Linked DNA regions of Homo sapiens: regions 2, 3, 4, 5, 6 and 7 are each linked to region 1. The links are contacts of gene promoters, found by promoter capture Hi-C in blood cells and fetal thymus (Javierre and others, 2016). All regions are on one chromosome and are shown on one strand. The core of a region is centred on a gene start or on the middle of the fragment in contact, and the rest is flanking DNA. Distances in the headings are between cores, read along the strand shown.

What was found. Contacts are between HindIII fragments. The CHiCAGO score rates a contact against its expected background, and 5 or more counts as called.
Region 2: a contact is called between a fragment that was not itself captured here and the fragment with the promoter of ARHGAP24 in region 1, in 2 of 17 cell types (total B cells and naive B cells). The highest score is 10.0, in total B cells.
Region 3: a contact is called between a fragment that was not itself captured here and the fragment with the promoter of ARHGAP24 in region 1, in 2 of 17 cell types (total B cells and naive B cells). The highest score is 13.2, in total B cells.
Region 4: a contact is called between a fragment that was not itself captured here and the fragment with the promoter of ARHGAP24 in region 1, in 1 of 17 cell types (naive B cells). The highest score is 6.7, in naive B cells.
Region 5: a contact is called between a fragment that was not itself captured here and the fragment with the promoter of ARHGAP24 in region 1, in 1 of 17 cell types (total B cells). The highest score is 6.8, in total B cells.
Region 6: a fragment that was not itself captured here is called in contact with the fragment with the promoter of ARHGAP24 in region 1 in 1 of 17 cell types (naive B cells); the score reaches 5.1 in naive B cells.
Region 7: a fragment that was not itself captured here is called in contact with the fragment with the promoter of ARHGAP24 in region 1 in 2 of 17 cell types (naive B cells and total B cells); the score reaches 8.0 in naive B cells.

Annotation. Positions count from the first base shown.
Region 1 is chr4:85,473,752-85,476,579 of GRCh38, forward strand. ARHGAP24 (Rho GTPase activating protein 24) reads left to right here and starts at 1,399. Exons shown (of 10, transcript NM_001025616.3): 1 at 1,399-1,808. The HindIII fragment of the contact is 5,990 bases long and covers 689-2,828 here.
Region 2 is chr4:85,857,680-85,860,655 of GRCh38, forward strand. All of the region lies in intron 3 of ARHGAP24 (Rho GTPase activating protein 24), which reads left to right. Among named protein-coding and RNA genes, the nearest start is that of MIR4451, 140 kb to the left of the region's middle. The HindIII fragment of the contact is 1,713 bases long and covers 521-2,233 here.
Region 3 is chr4:85,836,328-85,839,368 of GRCh38, forward strand. All of the region lies in intron 3 of ARHGAP24 (Rho GTPase activating protein 24), which reads left to right. Among named protein-coding and RNA genes, the nearest start is that of MIR4451, 120 kb to the left of the region's middle. The HindIII fragment of the contact is 3,324 bases long and covers 1-3,041 here.
Region 4 is chr4:85,092,789-85,095,851 of GRCh38, forward strand. No RefSeq gene overlaps it. Among named protein-coding and RNA genes, the nearest start is that of WDFY3, 130 kb to the left of the region's middle. The HindIII fragment of the contact is 5,236 bases long and covers 1-3,063 here.
Region 5 is chr4:85,884,590-85,887,578 of GRCh38, forward strand. All of the region lies in intron 3 of ARHGAP24 (Rho GTPase activating protein 24), which reads left to right. Among named protein-coding and RNA genes, the nearest start is that of MIR4451, 160 kb to the left of the region's middle. The HindIII fragment of the contact is 4,405 bases long and covers 1-2,989 here.
Region 6 is chr4:85,915,086-85,917,956 of GRCh38, forward strand. The region is part of intron 3 of ARHGAP24 (Rho GTPase activating protein 24); the gene reads left to right. Among named protein-coding and RNA genes, the nearest start is that of MIR4451, 190 kb to the left of the region's middle. The HindIII fragment of the contact is 4,449 bases long and covers 1-2,871 here.
Region 7 is chr4:85,933,723-85,936,664 of GRCh38, forward strand. All of the region lies in intron 4 of ARHGAP24 (Rho GTPase activating protein 24), which reads left to right. Among named protein-coding and RNA genes, the nearest start is that of MAPK10-AS1, 180 kb to the right of the region's middle. The HindIII fragment of the contact is 1,553 bases long and covers 729-2,281 here.

The DNA.
Region 1 (2,828 bases), core at 149-2,648:
GGAATTCCATACATATTTTTAAAATGAAATATGAAACGCAATTTTTTCCCCACACAAATTAATTTGATTCATTAAAGGGCTGAGAATTCTCCCACCAGAAAATCAAGTTTATAGTAGGACCTCAGCATGGGATGGGGTAGATTCGTTTCTCCAAGAACTTGGAGAAAGAGGACAAAAAGGAAAAACATATCAGTGTCCACTCAGCCTTTTATTTTTGGTGTTTCTAAAACTAAACATTTGCTCTTCTTCCATATCCCTCTCTCACTGGAGATCCCTAGTGAGGACACCCCCATTCTGTGTCTTAAGGATATCTGGTGATGATTTCTAAAAGAGAGTTTCTTTTATTAGTAGTAGCAGTAGTAATTGTTCGAGACGGGGGTGTCACTCCGTCACCTAGGCTGGAGTGCGCTGGCACAATTATAGCTCACTGCAGCCTTGACCTCCTGGGCTCAAGGGATTTTCCCGCTTCAGCCTCCTGAGTAGCTGGGACTACAGACATACGCCGCCACGCCCAACTTTTTTTTTATTTTTTTAATTTTTTTTTTATAGAGACAGGAGTCTCATTATGTTGCCAATTTTGGTCTGAAACCCCTGGGCTCAAGCGATCCTCCTGCCTCAGCCTTCCAAAGTGCTAGGATTGCATGACTGATCCACTGTAAGTGGGTTTCTAAAACAGAGATCTTTACAAAGCTTTTTGAAATAATTTGACTCAGCATGCCAGGTAACCAGAACTGTAAGATCACAATTTGAAACAGACATTGTGGTGATGGTGGGAAGAGACGGCCTGCATCAAAACAATGTTTACTAGTTTGTCCTTTTGTCCCATATTGTGTAACTCCGAGAGTTCTTACACCACCGTAAGAAAGTAATTATACTTTGAATTTCTCTAAGGCTCTAGTTAGAGAGCATCCATCTAAATGTGCATTTCCAGGAATATTGCTTTAATGGCCCAGGTAATTCTAATTGGAGAAATAAAATGTTAGCGAGACAGAGTTGGTAGAAGCAAGTAAAACCGGTGTATGGGGTTTGGCCAATGAAATGCAGAGCTCCTTGAGGGCAGGAGACATGTATTCACCAACCTTCTCGCGCCCACAGCCCCAGATCTGTGGCCAACAAGTATCTATGATGCACTTGAAAGGAACGAGCGATGCCAGATGCGGAGGAACCAGGCAGGGCGCATTCTGTCAGTGGCGCCAGGCGGTGTAGCTCCAGCTCTCAGATAACCCAGGCTTTGGGAGGGCGGGGCTCCTGCCGGCCTCCCCTGTAGTGCGGCTCGAGTCCTGTGAAGCTACCAGTTGCCAAATGAAATCTGAAACCTCGAGCTGTGTCTGAGGGTTGGCCCCACTCAGTTGTTCCAGCCTCTTGTACTGTATATTTACACATTCACACACAATCACCCTTTCTAACTTCTGGGACTCTTTGCGCAACTGCTAGGATTTCTCAAGTGCATGTGGCAACACAGCCCAGCTCCGGGTGGAAACCAGCAGGGCTCTGGAGGGGCTCGGAGACCAGGGGAGCTGTCAAGGCTGCGGCGGGGACCAGAGAGGAGCCTGGCGGGGGTGGCTGGGTGGCTGGGGGAATCCCCCCAACTTCCCATCGCAGGCGCAGCTCTCTCGGCCGCCTATTTCCTCCGAAACCCGCGCTGCGGAGCAGCCCAGTGCATAGAGTTCAACACTTCCCCTTGTTGTGGAAAGTAAAGGAGCCTCACTACCACCTTTTTTTCTTTGCGTTTTCTTACTGCTGGTCCTGGGAGCCTTTTCCTTCGGAGCAGCAGCCCTGTCCGGCATCTGTCTTGAGCTCCCAGCAAGGTAGGTGATGCGGTCGCGAGGAAGTGCGCGGAGCTACCGCGGGAAGGACGGACGCGGCTGCCTGCGCCAGGGGAGGGGGCTGCGGGGGGCGGGGAGGGGGCTGCGGGGGGCGGGGAGGGGGCTGCGGGGGGCGGGGAGGGGGCTGCGGGGGGCGGGGAGGGGGCTGCGGGGGGCGGGGAGGGATCGCAGGAATCCCGTGCTGATGTAGCCTGTCTGTGTTTGTGTGTGTGTGTGCGCGCGCGCGCATGTTTGTGCCGGGAGACAGCAAGCTGGTAGTATGTCTTTCTGGCTTTAAAAATAGATGGAATTAATAAAAACCCTTTGTACAATTCAATTTCCTCTCTTGGTATCCATCCTCCCCTTCCCCTTGTTTGTTTCCTCTAGTATCTTATAGGAGTTCCCTATGTAACAGGCGCACAAAGATAGGTTTTAATAATAAGCATATATATTTGCAAAAATATATATTTTATATGTATAAAATATGTTTTAAAATATTTATAAATATATTACATATTAGAAATATATATTATAAAATATATACATATATTTGTAAACACAAAACGTTAGGGAATCTTTGGTGAATTTGAAGCCACTCAAAAGATTTTGTCCAAATGTTTTTAAAAATAACATTTAATGATAAACATGTAATATGGTCTCGTTTTTAGAAAATACTTAAGACTACATTTATTTTATACGTACCCAAATAGAAGGGAGACAATGTTACTCTGAATTCCTTAGATAGATTTTCAGCATCAACCAGTAATAGGGAGCCCAGACTTCTTTGTAGACTATATCTCGTTTAATTCATTTGAATTAAACAAGTAATTTCTCCAAGTAATTTCTGTTTCCAGCACATTTTATGTTACTCTTTTTTTAACCTTCCACGGCATCATTGTTTCATCTCTTTCTAAAAAGGAAATAAATAAATCGTGCTGAGTATTTGGAATATAAAAGTTGTTAAGGCTTTGCTTATACATAAATACATAAATAAAACAATATGTGTTGCTATGTCTACTAAGT
Region 2 (2,976 bases), core at 127-2,626, 380 kb after region 1:
CTGATAGAGACAGAAAATAGGCGAGTGAATTTATTTTCACTAATTTTGTGCTCTCTTCAATTGTAAGATATACAATATTAAGAGAAATAGTTGGAAGCTACACAACTCAACTGGTTGCAGAGGGGGCAATAGATGCAGGTTAGTGAGCATGGTAGACTGCTTACCATGCCTCTGGGTTCCTGCTTTTTATGTTTATCTAATATTTTTTCTGGCCCTCTGAAGCTCTGAAGGTTTCTATTAATTCTGAGTCCATGATGTATTCTAATAATTCTTCTTTTACTTAAGTTTGTCATTTTTAACCTCTTTTGCTTGTAATTAAGAACTTTAAGTGGAACAAATATTTCTTTTAAACTTTTCTTTAATACCTACCACAAAATAAGTTCTTCGTCACCATAAGACTTGTGAGAAAAAAATGTAGAATAAATACAATGGACATAGGCCTTCTTTCAATTAGTTGTTCATTCATGTAACATTCAATAAATGTTTATTTAATACCAGTTGCATTTGAAGCACTCCACTAAGCTTAGAGGTGTGAGAGAAACAACTCTAACATTTGTGAAACAAACAAAGCAACAGGGAACATAAGCTGATGCTCAGAGCCCCTGACCACATGGTAGATGCTAATGAAGATGCAGTGTTTTATTTGGTTGACATTCTGTTGCTATTTGTTTAAACAATTTTGTTGTACATAGTAGTGTTTTCCATCATTTCATTTTTGGAATTTCTCACTTTTTCAATAATGGGATACTAGTAAATGGTGCCCATAGGTAACGTGATGTATTTGCTCCTTCCCCCATTCACAGCAATAGCATTTGCCTGAAAATGAGTAAATGCTTTGTGCAACTAAGCTGCATCCTGCCAATGGTATTCAATAAATTAAAACATAATGCTCTATGCAAATGTTAAAGAAAACATTATCTGGTATGTTATGGCATTAAATAAAGCATTTAATGCTGGCAAGTTGGCTTTGCCTCTGTAGACAAGATGATTCTAAGAAGCAATGTCTTGTAAGATATGAAATTAACCAAGCTGAGAGGGAAAGGAAAAGGAGTGGATGCATTCCAGGCAGAGGAAGGTGATCTGTACAAACGGTAGTGATAATGTGTCTGGAGGATCTAGGAGTTTCTGAAAGATTTTATTTTACCTGGAGAGATTGAAAAGGTATATCTGGTAGTAATAAAAATAAAAATAAATGAATCTTGAGAGGTGCACAGATGCCAGTGATTGAAGCACCTTTCATATCAACTTCAGTAGTATGGTACTCAGAAAAAAAAAATGCCTGAACCTCAGGTACATATAAAGCAATCTGTATAATCTGTATAATGCACATCCTCCTGCCATTATCTGCTTTTGGGTCTTAGGCAAAGGCCTTTCTCACTTTCACACATTGCTGCAGGTTGTTGATAGTATTAAAACATGGTTTGACCTGGGAAAAGGCCATTAGGGAAAAAATGTGAAGGATGGAGGTTTGACACCCACTTCTGTGCACACACACACATATACACACATACACACATACATAGCCACATGCATACACACACACACACACACACACACACACACAAGATGTGCTTGGGCTGTATGCCTTCCTTGAGAACAGCTTGGTTTCATTCGCTACAGAATCAGTTTCTCAGTCATAAGCTACCAAGACTTAGATGTCCTTTAGGAGTTATTTCATAAACTCTTGATATCAGAACCTTAAATAAATTTACTTAAATAATGTTCACTTATGGAGCAAAGATAGAAAATGGTAACAGAGTAATCTCGGCAGATAAAAATAAAGTCCCAAATGAGTATCAACATATTTTAGTAATAGTCATCAAACGTTTAAATACACAATGAACTTTGCAGACAACTGTTGAAATATTCTCTATAAATAAGCCACATATTTCTTCTCCTCATGATTTTAATGTGATATTTAGGTCTGAGTATCTCTATAAGCCCATGCTAATAGCTACTGTTTTAGTGACAAGTGAAGTTTTAGGGTCCTCACCGCTATCAGATATTTAGGTACATGGACTATTTTTACTAATTTATTCTTCCATCTGGCTGTAGTCTGGAATTTTAACTTCCAGTTTCATTTAAGAGCCTAAGCCTACTAATGAGACAGCCTTTGCAGCAGGTGGGAAGAAACAGAAACAAATGACAGCCTTTCCTTTTGAGCACCCCTAGTTATGTTTCAGTCTCCAGGGTAGTGCTTGTTCTTTACCACTGTCTCACAATGGCTAACCCAAGCTTTAGAGCTTACAATTAAAAAAAAAATTCAAGCATTTTTCCTGATATTAACAGGGCAAAGCTTTCTGATAAGGATTGTGCCCTAAGCAGCCTTAATATTTAATGCTGGTATCATACTGACCTGAGGATGAACAATAAATTATAAAAACATGCAGATGCTCACGTCCAGTGAATCAGAACAATTGATTTTCTTTTTAAACATGTGCTTGCCACGGGAAGTGTATTAATATGGCAGAAACAGGGCCAGGAAGCTTATATTTAGAATGAATTAGGCATGGAAGATGAATTACAGGGTAAGGTACTATTTATGGAGAATATAAAAAGCAAATGTGTAGAGAGATGGGGGAGTCAGGGTGACTTGTTGAAATATGGTGCCCCACGAGGGCTCACTCATATATGAGTCAGAGAATACAATGAAGATGCCAAGAAGGAACTGCAATTTACAGAGATGGTCTCTCCAAAGACCAAATGCTAAATACACATCATATTTTTGTGACATCTCTTCATTACGGTTTAATATTAAACCTATCAGCCCCTTTAGGATCCATATGGCAGAATCACCAGCCTGGTAGTCTGGAAGAACAAGAGGCTTTTACTGCATGTGTCTCTGTGAAACCCAAGGCTAACTTAGAATAGATAACTTCACTTTGAATGCATCAATTACTAAAGGAAAGTAGGCATTAAAAATAACTGAAATTCCTGAGGATGGGACGACCGTGAAATGATGAATGATTAGGAGTG
Region 3 (3,041 bases), core at 177-2,676, 360 kb after region 1:
ATTTCCTGCCTCACAGTTCTGGAAGCCATAAATGTAAAATCAAGGTGTTAGCAGGTTGATGCTGCCTCTGAAGACACTACAGAAGGTCTGTTCTCGGTCTTTCTCCTACCTTCTGATAGACTCAGGAGTTTCTTAGCTTGTAGATGCCTGTCTTCCTATGTTTCTCAACATCACCTTCCCTCTGTGCATATCTATCACTGTGTCCCTATTTCCCCTTTTTATGAGGACACCAGTCATATTGGATTAGGGACTACCACTTTGACCTGTAAAGACCCTATTTCCAAATATGACCACATTCTGAGATACTGGAGGTTAGGACTTCAACATATCTTTCCTGAGGAACATAATTCAACCCCTAGCATTGGCTCAGAAGAAATAATAGTAATGGGAGAACCCAAGAAAATTCAGAGTCCAGGACTGGCCTCAGTATTATATTACCTCCATGCTATTCGAAGTGTGGTCAGTGACTAGCAGCATCAGTATCCTGTCAGCGCTGGTAAGAAATGCAGAGTCTCAAGCCTCTTCTAGACCTCCTGCATCAGAATCTGCATTTTAACCTAGATCCCCAGATGTTTTGTTTGTACATTAAAGTTTCAGAAGAGCTGTTCCAACTCACAGAGTAGAAGCCCAATTCTCAAATGCCAAAAAGGAGGGGGAAAAAGGACTGTGCTGATGTGCAGGGACTCCCTAAATATGTGCACATAGCAAGTATGGGGTCATCATTCTAGCCCAGCTGTGACATATTTATTCCTAAAGGTAATATTTATCTCTGAAAGTTTTAGGAGTTAAGTGTTGATGACTATTTATTCCCTTGCTGTAGAGCATCCCTTAGGAGTGAACTCAGAAGATCATTAGGCAGAGATAGCTCAAATTCTTTTTTCCTACACTTGCTTTGATTCTGTAAGTTGTTTCTTTTCTGCCAACCTGCTCTATAATTTGAGTCAGCCTAGCTAACTGGGTCATACAATCTAATTCTGAAATAAGGCCTGTCAAGGGAAAACATTTTCCCCAGTAATGGGGAAAAGGTACTTGAATTTCTAACATCATTCTTTAAGTGATTGAAAATGTCGTGAACTCTTGCTTCACTGACTTCTGCCTCTCCTGCCCCAAGGTCTTTGCACGTCCCTAAAGATGTAATTCAGCTGGAATTTGTGGTTGTGGAGTCTATGTTACATGAAGACAAATCGAAAGAGAAAAACAAAAAAAAACAAGCAGCGGAATTAAACTTTGTCCTGGAGTCATCTTGGGCAAATGCTTATAATAGCAAGGGAACAAATGCAGCTTCCCTAGAGGACTCCGAGGTTGCAGTTCTCATGGGGGTGGGGACTTGAAATGACAAGTGATTATTCACAGAAGTAAAATATGCTCAGGAGGAGCCCACTCCCCTAAACTCCAGTGTCAGCAAGCACACCATATGGACTGTATTCCAATCCCAATAAAACTGCCATGCTGCGGGCAATGTTGTAGGGAAATTTCCCTACGTGGGAATCAATCTTTGTAACTGATAATTAGAGAATTTTAACATTTTTATCATCTTCTCTCGAGTCCTATAGTTTAGATTCCTCGATCGGTATTGTATTTCTGCTCTGCTGGCTTTATCTATATGCTAAGTAGTAAAACAAAACCAAACTTTGAAAATGTACTCCCAGCATCATTTGACTGTCTTGATCGTCCTTTCTGTTAACATTCTTTATTGGGTTCAAATAATGTCTGGAAAAAATAGCGAACGTGTGTTATTACTAGGTGCCAGCCACTCTCCTAAGCATCTACATTACTTATACACTTTTAATTCTCACAACAATGCTATAAACCACAGATGGGAAATTGTGCAGATGAGGAAGTTGAGACACAGGTTAAATCGTGACATCAACTAGTGGCAGGGTCAGAATTCAAATCTGATTCCACAGCCTGTGAGCATGACTACTGTGGATACTGCCTCTCAAGAGAGACATGTAATCATTCTGAATATATCTTTAAAAGGCCAAAATAGCCGGGCACGGTGGCTCACGCCTGTAATCCCAGCACTTTGGGAGGCTGAGGTGGGCAGATCACGAGGTCAGGGGATCAAAACCATCCTGGCTAACACAGTGAAACCCCATCTCTACTAAAAATACAAAAGCAATTAGCCAGTCATGGTGGTGGGCGCCTGTAGTCCCAGCTACTTGGGAGGCTGAGGCAGGAGAATGGTGTGAACCCAGGAGGCGGAGCTGGCAGTGAGCCGAGATCACGCCACTGCACTCCAGCCTGGGCGACAGAGCGAGACTCTGTCTCAAAGAAAAAGGCCAAAATAACTACTGCAAAATGTGTTTTTAAAATCTCTTTTATTGCATAGCCAATTATGGCAGATATGCCCCCCACTTCTGTTGCTGAAACTGTATCCTTCCTTAAGTGACACATTTTAGGGACGTTTTCTTTAAGACATAAACAAAATACAATTATTTTCACACCTTCCCTCCCCCACTAAGTCCATCCCTCCCTCCCCCAAGCTAACTTTGCCAAACACCTGCTCTGTTCTTCATTCGCATGGAGGGCCCACCTTGGAAATTTTCTGCTCTTCCTCTCTTTATTTCTTCCTCCAGCTGCGCTGAGCCCCTCACCTTTATTTGTTGTCATTATGCTGATCAATATTGAGTTCTATCAAAAATCGTAGCTCAGTTGCCACAACCTGAGCATTGTTCATGGCATTTTCATGAGCAACTAATTACCTTAGATGGCATCTAATAAATGTTTGGCACCTGCTTAATTCCAAAGGGAAGGGGAAACACAACAATTACAATGAACTAAAAATGGTAGCTATTCTCATTACTTTCAGCAATCATAATAAAACAGAGAAGACTCAGTAATAATAATTGTATAAATTATTTTAAACATTAAAAAGAGTAATTTGTAAGTATGTGCGGCTTAACATAGCCCTTGCTCCAAAGTACGTTTCTGAAAGAAAGTGTATATGCTGATTTAAATATGGATATCAGAGGATAGAGACTTTCTAGTGCTCCTTATTCTCATCTTTTATTAACACTGATCATCCAAACTTGAATTCT
Region 4 (3,063 bases), core at 210-2,709, 380 kb before region 1:
TTCTGTGGAGTTTGCACAGGTGAGAGAAGTCTTAATGAGTGAAACATGATAGTCAACCCAGAGGAGAAAAATCAGAAGTCATATAATATGATTTCATTACCTGTATTTGGCATATTTACAATAATTTGCCGGTGAGATGTCAAATGTCAAATGTAAGCATAATTTAAAAGTGGCTATAGTATTGTCTTAGTTCATTTGGGCAGCTATAACAAAATGCCATAAACTGGGCAGCTTGCAAACAACAAAAATCTATTTTTCACACTTCTGGAGTCTGGGAAGTCCAAGATCAAAGAGCCACAGATTTGGTGTCTGAGGACCCATTTCCTTGTTCACAGATGGCACCTTTTGTGTCCTCATGTGGTGAAAACGTGGGAACTAGCTCCTGTTTTATAAGGGCACTAATCCTATTCATGAAGGCTTATGACCTAATCACCTCCCAAAGAGCCTCTAACATCACCTTGAGGGTCAGGACTTTAACATAAGAATTTCAGGAGACACAGAACATTCAGACTATAGCAAGCATGCACAAACTATATTTTATTCATTTAACATTTTTGAGTGCCTGTTACATGGCAAATATTGTGCTACATGCTGAGGTTATGAATGTGAACAAGTCACGCCCTCCCTCCTCCAACTCTCAAGAAAGTTCACCAAAATGGCTGAAGGCGTTTCCATTAAAAAGAGATATATCTCTGCAGGAACTTTCTTAGATAAGCATGTTTGACAGTGGGAAGAGAAAGAGGAAAAGGTAAATCCATATAAAAGAAAGAAAGCAGGGAGATGGGTTATTTCCTTTGACCCTTTGCTGGTTTGTTCCTGTTTTACCTGTGCGAGTAGACTATTGCTATATTTCTAGGACAGTGTCCAGAGATATCTTTTTCCTTTGCTTTGGACACTGCAGGTAAGATGTAGGTGTGATAAATAATTTTGAGCTTGTTAGTTTCAGGGTAATTGGTGAGGAAGGAAAAAGAAGATGACATACCTCAGAGTTCACTAATTGGCATTTCTTCTTGAAACGTGAACAAGAAAGCAAAATTGGCAGTGTTCTAAGACAATAAGGCAAAGGATTGTCTGCTGTGCATACATGGCTGCTGTGACTTTTCATTTCAGTTGCGTGACCAACTTGTTTGTGACCTTGATTTGTGCCTGAGGGTTTCATTACCTGATTCTTAGAACTGTAAAATAAAAACCAACATGAAGCCAGTCAAAACCCAAAGTTGATAATCAACTATAAATTCTCTGAATTTTTAGGCTATTTGTTAGTTGCAAGTTTTAGATTTTTTGTACTCTATGTAAACACTTTCAAATCACATAAATGCTTCCAGAAAAGTCCACACAATATGCTCTTCATATAGAGCTGGTTCTACTAGTTGATAATCAGTAATATTATTTACTGGGCTCCTCTTCTAATAGGAGGGATAATTCCATACTATTTCCATTTATTCCCTTTTACCTTTACCTGGAACTTGTTTTCTTTGTGAAAATACCATGTAGAGGACAACCAAGTAGCATTTTGGCGAGAAAAAGATTTATATAAATTGACTGAATTAAGAAAACAGAACCTTTTGGAGCATTTTTTTTACTAATTTTTTTACTAAAGAAAGTGTATTTGTCACTGCATTTGCTATATGTCATATTCGAAACCATGTGGAATCTTTTTGAATAAAGAAACAGATCAGGTAAAAGCCTGGAAAAATGTGTAAGAAAATAACAAGTTGTAAGGAAATATTAGCAACAAAAATTTATGGTGAAATGAAACAAAGCAGTAGCATCTTAATAATCAGGAAGGCTAATGGATCTCTGCAACGTATCATTATAAAAGCATTTCAAAGGGCTGGGAAGCCATCCCACTTGGAACTCTTCGCGTAATCCTGAACCTTATATGACAGGAATGGTAACAAAGCATCAATAAAGACAGCCGTGATGATAAAATATCTTTAGGTCATAGCTCCTTTTGGAGACTAAAAAAAATAAGGTCAGTACTTATTCTGAGAGGAAATGAAAGGTGAACATGACTAAGGCAGATAAAGTTTGGAGTATAAAAAAGTATATGAAAGAAAACTCTTCAAGGATAAAATAGTTCAAAAGCAAGAGGGCATGAAATAGAACAAAGGAAGGACTGACGTTTAAAAGAATGCTATTAAAAGAGTGCAATTCAGGTGTGAAAATAATGACCAAAGGTAGCCATGGAAATTAATAAATGCTTCCATTTAGTAAGAAGGAATTTATGAGATACTTAGGTAAAATTATGGAACAAATTAGTGGGTGTTGAAAGTATGACCTGAATGTACTTTTAATGAAGAACTTCTATATTCTACCTTGAAGTATATCTTACAGATAATTTGCTCAGAGGTAAAAGATTACATCTACTGGGCAGCTGATGGCATGTTATATGCTGCTTTGAATTTATTGCTGACAGTCAATCAATTGTATATATAGGATTATGTTATGAAGTTTTTATTTACAAGCACATTTATAGGCCAACATAGACACCTGTCAATGGAGAAAACTATATTTTGCTAACTATGTAATTAATAAAAAGACATAACTAGGGTTTGCTGAAGTAGATCTGGGAAGTGACTATAGTCAATTATTCCAATTCAGTACCTTCTTTGTTAAGTGAAAGTAAATTGTATGCACATGAGACTTGTATTTCCCTGAGCTACACTAGCTTTTACAGGCAAAAATGTACTTACATTAATTACAGTAGATTATGTTTATTTTTCTCCTTGTTATTTTATTTCCACCTGCAGGATTTTTTACTACCTGTTATTTTGTGATTTCCATTACCACTCACATCTCTTCTATACATTTCTTGGCATCTCCAGGATGTTTCCTGTGATCTCACAAATATATCCCTTTAAACTATTACTCTCTATGCAAAGGCATTTTGCTAGTTGCATCTGGTATCCACAGTCCCCTATTAGGCACAACCACTAAGTACTAACATTGCCCTTGGGTGTTCTAAGGCAGTATCACACTATGTGAGGCCTTCAGCACACTGTGGGGCCCTTGGCCATACTTAACTTTCCCCAGAAAAGGTAAGGAGAGTGTCTCTTTCCT
Region 5 (2,989 bases), core at 418-2,917, 410 kb after region 1:
TCCTCTGGGGGTCTATAAACTAATCTCCATGCAACCCCTATCCCACTTCCTACAAACACTCCTGTAATAAAGGAAGATTGAATCGGAAACTATCAAGTTGTGGAATGTTTGACTTTCTTCTAGAAAATATGGAAGGTAAATTCATTGATTTTTTTTCTCCTAGAAATATTTGGCAGCTTTGATAAAGAAATCTTGGGGTTGGAGTTGAGAGTGTTGAGTACAGAAATTGTTGCATCAACTAAAATTGTTATTTTAAAGTTTTATTATTTCAATTTACTGTCTGATCTGCTTCATCTACAAATTATAGGTATAAACATAATCTCTAAAATGTGCCACCTTTTACACAGTTATATATGGTAAAAATGGGTTTGGAAAATTTTTAATGATGTAGGTCTTTTATGTCTGTCAAGAAATACAAAGAAACTGCAAGAGTGGTCTGAAGTTACCACGTAGAAGGAAATATGGAAAAAAGTTTTCTTATTGAAGGCATACATCCTTTCTTCAGTGTTTAGATTTATTCATTATTAGCCAACGTATTTTAGGAGGGCATTTTAGGATTTAGTTTCTTTTTGGTACATATTAGATTCATTACGCTTCCTTTATGTAAAGTTTAATATTTACATATGTGGTCTTGATTATAGTATTTTGAGTGCTATATAACTCCCCTAGCCTTTTAGTTTTGTAATCCACATAGACAGCCTAATTTAGGCTTATATTTGCTTCTGGAAACTTGGTGTCTATTATAGGTTTTAAAATATATGTTTTTTAATTGTGCTTTTCAACTAAGGGCCAGTTTTACAAATTCTAATTCATAGTACATTATCTATAGAAACTCACGAATACCTATTAGCTGTTACCCAGTTTGGGGGTTTTATTAATTATCTCAGATAATAAAATTAGGTATTTTTAGAATCTTCAAGGTCGTCTTTTTGAAAGGTTATTAAGTGTCTCTGAAAGTTAAAAATTTGAAGTATAACAAAACCATTCTTGGATCATAGACTATATGTCTTAGACTTAAAATAATAATACCATGAACTTTTAATACTTATTTATATCTTTTAAAATTATTCCTAGTAAATTGGGAAAATAGTAGTTCTTGGAGTCCCATCTATTTCCAAATATTTGATAATGGCTCATGTGTTAAATGACATGGCAAACTAAAATGGTATGTTGTTATGGCTAGTAGAATGGTCATTTAACATCTGAGCTTTTTAATTTAATTGTTTAAAGCTAGAGTTAGATGTGGTAGATTATGTTGGTTGATACTTTATTTATTATCTTTTATAACTATGAGAGCAAAATTTTGGATTAGTTATGCACTTCCTAGAATAGGAATCCCGCACAGAGAAATTTGAAATGCAGTGTCATCATCAATTTCCTTGTTGCACCTGTCCAATGAAGATAACTATTAATTAAAGTCACAACATTGCTATTCTAATGCCATAAAGAATTTTGAAACATCTCATGAAATTTCAAAATACCTTGAAGAGATTGTATCCAGATTTATCTTTAATTTGGAAATGACTGAACTCAAAAGTAATTCATTATCTGAGGGCCCAAGATAATCTTTAACAAACCATGTGTTTAGCAAAAGTTTAATGATTGTCAATGACCATTATCTGACAACATAATTTATTTACTGTAATATGATAAACTTCGCAGGACAATTATATAATCATACAACAACGTTACCATGTGAAATACAAAATGTGAGTTGGGTTACTTACCTGATTTAAGTGCAACAGTAAGCTGCCCCATGGGTAGAGTATACTTTTCATTTTCAGTTATCACCCTGCCTCCAGATTAACATTCTCATGTCATGTAAAGGTGAGCACTTAATAGATGAAGAATTAGTGCACCAGAAGGTGGTCCTGAAAGTACTAAGCCTTATCATCATAGACCAGGCTTGTGTGTTGCTTATGGAATCACCACTAAAATAAACACTTGAGTTGAGGCCACCCAAACTTACGGAGAGAAAGGGAATGATAGTCATTTAGTGTTTATTTTCTAAATGGCACTTTAAAACCGATACATATCCCTAGAGCTTTGAAAGTATTAACTGAATAGCTTTTTTGCTTTCAAATAAGTGAATACATTAAACAATGAAATGATGTCATAAAGCATCTAAAATAATGATGCTAGATCATATCCATTTCCCCCTAAGATTTTCAAATAAAATAGTTTAAATTAACCCCTATACTCCACACTGATATGAAAATAATAGCTCATTTATGTTTTGATACAAGAGAATGTTTAAACAAGGATGACTCACATGGGCAATGTATTTGTTCTATGCATAGAATTTCTTGTTGGTCATTACAGAGACAATAAGAGATTTTATTATATATAAGCTGTTCAGCTTTTCTCTTGCCTTGATCTCATTATCAATCAGATAATGATTGCATTGACTAGCTTTGGTACCATTTTTAAGAGATTTACCTAAATAGTTACGATATGGCAAATGTAATTTTTGAAGTAACAAGAGCATACTCTGGTACCAATATTCAAGAAATATTTGTATCATCTATATGTATGAAAAGGACTAGAAGAAGACAAAAGAGTAAAAACTGGTGTATTTACTGTCATGATGATTATTTAATAATTGTTTTTCATTAATATTGCCAAAGGTTTATGTAAGACATCATAATTTTAAAAGGAATCCTCTAACATTTAATTAAAAGATTCTTTGCTGATTAGAGTATTAAAATATATAATCCAAAGCCCTCAAAAGTTTCTTCTCATCCAAGGTTAATTAATTATATTTAAAATATGTCTATTAAGAATTATTAATCAAAGGAGAGGTATACCAAATTTTGATAAAGTTTAATGACATCAAATGAAAATCTATCCTTAAAATAGTGGGTAAAAGAGTAAGAGACTGAGAAAGAGATGGAACAAATATCTTCCTGCTCTATGGATTGGGAGACTGTCTCCAGAAACACCAGGACATAACAATATAGCCTATGCCTATATGCTTACAGTTGTAAAT
Region 6 (2,871 bases), core at 66-2,565, 440 kb after region 1:
AGGAAGTAACTAGATTCTGAATCTCTGACAAAAGTGGAAGTCAGAATATACTGTTGGACTTAAATTGTTAACTTCCCAGTGTAATCTGGGAAACAAGTATTCAAAACATAATACATTATATCATTCTTATCTTTGACATGCTCAGCACAAATAGCACACTTTTGAAGGAATAAGTCCAAGAAATGCGAAAAATAGTGAAATATAAACTTAGCCTATTTGAGATTTTAAAAGTTTCATAAATCACTGAAAAGTAAATGTATCACAATTATACTTTTTTAAAAACATGACCAAAATAAAAGTCAATATTTACTTGAAAGATAAATCAGTCATCACTTTCTTATTTATTTATTTATACTTTAAGTTATGGGATACATGTGCGGAATGTGCAGGTTTGTTACATAGGTATACACGTGCCATGGTGGTTTGCCGCACCCATCAACCTGTCATCTGCATTAGGTATTGCTCTTAATGCTATCCCTCCCCTAGCCCCCCACGCCCCAATAAGCCCCAGTGTGTGATATTCCCCTCCCTGTATTCATGTGTTCTCGTCGTTCAACTCCCACTTATGAGTGAGAACACGTGGTGTTTGATTTTCTGTTCCTGTGTTAGTCTGCTGAGAATGATGGTTTCCAGCTTCATCTAGGTCCCTGCAAAGGAAATGAACTCATCCTTTTTTATGGCTGCATAGTATTCCATGCTGTATATGTGCCACATTTTCTTTATCCAGTCTATCATTGATGGGCATTTGGGTTGGTTCCAAGTCTTTCCTATTGTGAATAGTGCTGCAGTAAACATACGTGTGCATGTGTCTTTATAGCAGAATGATTTATAATCCTTTGGGTATATACCCAGTAATGGGGTTGCTGGGTCAAACGGCATTTCTGGTTCTAGATCCTGGAGGAATCAACACACTGTCTTCCACAACAGTTGAACTAATTTACACTCCCACCAACAGTGTAAAATTGTTCCTATTTCTCTACATCCTCTCTAGCATCTGTTGTTTCCTGACTTTTAATGATCGCCATTCTAACTGGTGTGAGATGGTATCTATTGTGGTTTTGATTTGCATTTCTCTAATGACCAGTGATGATGAGCTTTTTTTCATGTTTGTTGGCCGCATAAATGTCTTCTTTTGAGAAGTGTCTGTTCGTGTCCTTCACCACTTTTTGGTGGGGTTGTTTTTTCTCTTGTAGTTTATTTAAGTTCCTTGTAGCTTCTGGATATTAGCCCTTCATCAGATGGATAGATTGCAAAAATTTTCTCCCATTCTGTAGGTTGCATGTTCACTCTGATGATAGCTTCTTCACCTGGTCCAGAGCTGAGTTCAAGTTCTGAATATCCTTGTTAATTTTCGACCAGGTGAACTTAATACACATCTACAGAACTCTCCATCCCACTAAAGTTGGGGAAAGTAATACTTAAAAAAATAAATAAATAAATAAGAGCTTATAGTTGTATGAGTGAAAATTATTAACTCTGTATTCTAAATGACAATTAAATGACATAAATTTCCAGTATTTTTCTGTAGTCTGTAATAAAATGGATAGTAGAACAGTCTAGTTTTCAACTGATTTGCAGTTGGGAATGAGGAAACAATTCACCCTGGAAGTTATTAACAGCATCTGAGTATTCACTGAAATGTCCTCAGTTCTCTACTGTGAACTTGTCTTGGAAACTAACTCAAATGTCTGTGACAGCAGTTTCCTTTGTGCAACTGCAACTTGTTTAAAAATTTAAATGCAAACAAATAATTCACTGCAATATTTAAATAATTATTTATTGGAGATGATGCACATATCTTCTAAGAAAGACATCACTTCTTTTTTTTATTTTATTATTATTATACTTTAAGTTTTAGGGTACATGTGCACGATGTGCAGGTTAGTTACATATGTATACATGTGCCATATTGGTGTGCTGCACCCATTAACTCGTCATTTAGCAGTAGGTATACCTCCTAATGCTATCCTTCCCCCCTCCCTCCACCCCACAACAGTCCCCAAAGTGTGATGTTCCCCTTCCTGTGTCCATGTGTTCTCATTGTTCAATTCCCACCTATGAGTGAGAACATGCAGTGTTTGGTTTTTTGTCCTTGCAATAGATTACTGAGAATGATGATTTCCAATTTCATCCATGTCCCTACAAAGGACATGAACTCATCATTTTTTATGGCTGCATAGTATTCCATGGTGTATATGTGCCACATTTTCTTAATCCAGTCTATCATTGTTGAACATCTGGGTTGGTTCCAAGTCTTTGCTATTGTGAATAGTGCCGCAATAAACATACGTGTGCATGTGTCTTTATAGCAGCATGATTTATAGTCCTTTGGGTATATACCCAGTAATGGGATGGCTGGGTCAAATGGTATTTCTAGTTCTAGATCCCTGAGGAATCGCCACACTGACTTCCACAATGGTTGAACTAGTTTACAGTCCCACCAACAGTGTAAAAGTGTTCCTATTTCTCCACATCCTCTCCAACATCTGTTGTTTCCTGACTTTTTAATGATTGCCATTCTAACTGGTGTGAGATGGTATCTCACTGTGGTTTTGATTTGCATTTCTCTGATGGCCAGTGATGTTGGCATTTTTTCATGTGTTTTTTGGCTGCATAAATGTCTTCTTTTGAGAAGTGAAGAAAGACATCACTTCTAAGAAACTGTTTGTTTTTTAGTTCACAATTTTATTGACAACTTACATTTATTTTCTTCAAAAGAAAAATAGCAAAAGCCTACTTTGGTGGCTATTTTTGGAACTTTTCACACAATAAGTACAATAAAATGTTTCTTAGAGTATAATTTTTAGAAAAGTAATGCACATAGGAACAACCTTTAATGCACGTAATAGTAGCAATCTTTTTGTCACTAAG
Region 7 (2,942 bases), core at 255-2,754, 460 kb after region 1:
CTTGATTACCTGGGAATGCATAACACTGTGGTCTGAGCACTTGGGTCTAGTCGTAAGAGGCTAGATTCCTTGATTGTTGTGATCCCAGGATGCTAAATTAGATTTTTAAAGTCCACCTCTATCTTGATTTTTTCGTGAACTACTCCTTTCTTGGAGATAAGTTATCATCAGGTCCTCAGTGGCTTTTCCTACACAGCAGCCACTTAGTGATCATTCACCATTGCTTCTTCTTTATGTCTTTCCAGCTCCATTTCCATTTCCATCACCTTAGCTCTTTGTGCCTTTATTGCTCCATGTATGCAACTTACTTTAACCTAAGTAGTGGCTTTTCAAGACAGCATTCATCCTCACCTCTGTGCACCCCCAGCACTCTTCACAAATTCCTACAACACACAAGCCATCTTGTGAAGCATTTCCCTATCTGTATTTCTAAAACAGTGCTGTCAAGCAACTTTCCACAGCTCAAAGATTTTTATGATCCCCTATTGCTCACAGGAGGAAGTCCTATTTCAAGTAACTATAAAGGCCCTCTAACAAATTCTAACAATTCCCTGGAGTATAAGCCCCCTAATTCCCCAGACTATTTCATCCTTTCTCCTAAACACATGTCCTACACCACTTCTTCATGTCTCTTCACTTTGTTTCCTCTGCTATGATGCTTTCTTCTCCATTGTCTATCTCAACTTTATGCTCTCTTCAAGGCATCACTGACTCTAATTTCTTCAGCAAGCTTTCTCTGTTTACCAATTATATGCTCCTAACTCTATAGCTCTTATGTTTTATTTTTATTTATTTATTTGTTTGTTTGTTTTGAAATGATCTCATTCTGTCATCGAGGCTGGAGTGCGGTGGTGAAATCTTGGTTCACTGCAACCTCCGCCTCCCGGGTTCAAGTGATTCTCCTAGCTCAGCCTCCTGAGTAGCTGGGATTACAGGTGCCCGCCACCACACCCAGCTAATTTTTGTATTTTTAGTAGAGATGGGGTTTCATCACGTTGGCCAGGCTCGTCTCAAACTCCTGACCTCAAGTAATCCTCCCACCTCGGCCTCCCAAAGTGCTGGGATTATAGGCGCAAGCCACCTCGCCCAGCCGACAGCTCTTACATTTTACATATGCTGATTCTTGGCCACTGTATCCTAATAGCCACCTTGAGGTGCTTTATACGCGTTTGTAGTATACACACATGCACATATGCGTGCACATACACACACACACACATATTCATTCCCAAAGTGGAGAATGGCAATAGGTCTATTCAATCAGGGATTCAAGATCGATTACAAACTGGTGAGGTACAGTGTTACTATCTATTCCCAGAATCCATAGGCAATAGAATGTCTTTACAGTGGTGGTGGACAAGACCAACATCCTCTTTAAAATTTGTTGTATGTTATATATGTTGTAATCACATTTATGAAAATGGATTTGCCCAACAAAACACCACTATCCAAATCTATATAATTTTAAACTGCGTATAAGTGACTAGCTCATTAATTCATATATCAATGTTTTATGGAGCCTCTACCAAGTGGTGCTGGGAATGAGAAGGTAAACAAACAGGTTGTCTCAAATCTATGAATTCACAGACTCCTTGGAATAACGAAACATAAATAAGTACTTTGTGATAAGCACCACACCAAATTATCTATTAAGTTGTAGGTGCCCCTGAACAAAAGGCTGACCACAGGCTCCTGTGGAAACCCAGTGATTCACATAAACTAAAGGAAATCGGGTTTGGTCTTTGAAAGTTACAAAAAGACATTTTCTCCCATGTGATACTAAGACAATAGTGAGAATGCCTTGGAAAAAATTATGTTTGAATTCAATTAACATAACATAGTGAAAAATGAAAGACTTTTAGAATCATATGGAGCTGTGTTTGTATCCCAAATCTGCCACTTTCTAGATGTGTGACCTCAGACAGGTCACCTGCCATCTTCAAATCTGTTTCCCTGTTTGTAGAAAAGGGACCCCCTTGTAGGATGTCTGTGAATGCCAAATAAAGAAATACATGCAACTTGCCTGACTTGGAACCTAGTGTGTATAATTGCTCCAATGGTCAAAGACCTAGTCCACTGGGTCGCTATGTACACCTTGTAACACTTTCTTAATCCTTCCTAGCATTTATTATTCTCCTTCCTTCCCCCCTCTGACTTTGAAAAGAGTAAAGATTCTATCAACATTCACTGGTTACGATAGACCCTGAGCTCCTTGGAGTAAAGGATTTCTATCTATATAATATTTTGTGGCTACTTAAAAAGTTTGTGATAGAGTGAAATAAGCTTTGCCTTGCTTTGTTTCTTAGTTCTGTACTAAAATGGATGTATTTTACTTTGATTTGCCCATTTGCTATGGGTGAATGTTCATTTTAATGGAAAATTCTTACCATCCTGGTGATACCAGGATTTATCCTGCTAGCAGAGTTGCAGTAAGCAGAGGATAAGTCAAGGCAAATTCCCACTATGGCTGAGTATGTGATCTGCAGACAAGAAGGGATAAGGAACTCAAAATTAATGGCACGACCCACGAACTATCAATGAGTTTCATTTGACATTGGAATTATTCATTTATTTTCTATAATTGGGGAGGTAAAGTGTTTTATTTCCATGCATGCATTTATTCCATAAATGTTTATGGAGCATCTGTGCGTCACCCATCTTGATAAGTTCCAGGGACATAAACAAAAGGCCTTGACTGTGGTAAAATAGAATTAAAGCTTTGGAGTCCTTTATACCTGGGACCCATCCCAGTGTGGTCCTTGTGTCTGTGGCACCTTGCCTAAACCTCTCCGAAGCTCATAGGATAGATATATAGTATGTAGCTGCTTTCTAATATTTATTATAATAATAATAAATGTAAAACAATTATTTCATTATAATAAATGTAAAAATAAAATCCTCTTTTGACTAGTCCAGCACAGGTTAGGCATCTAAATAAATAA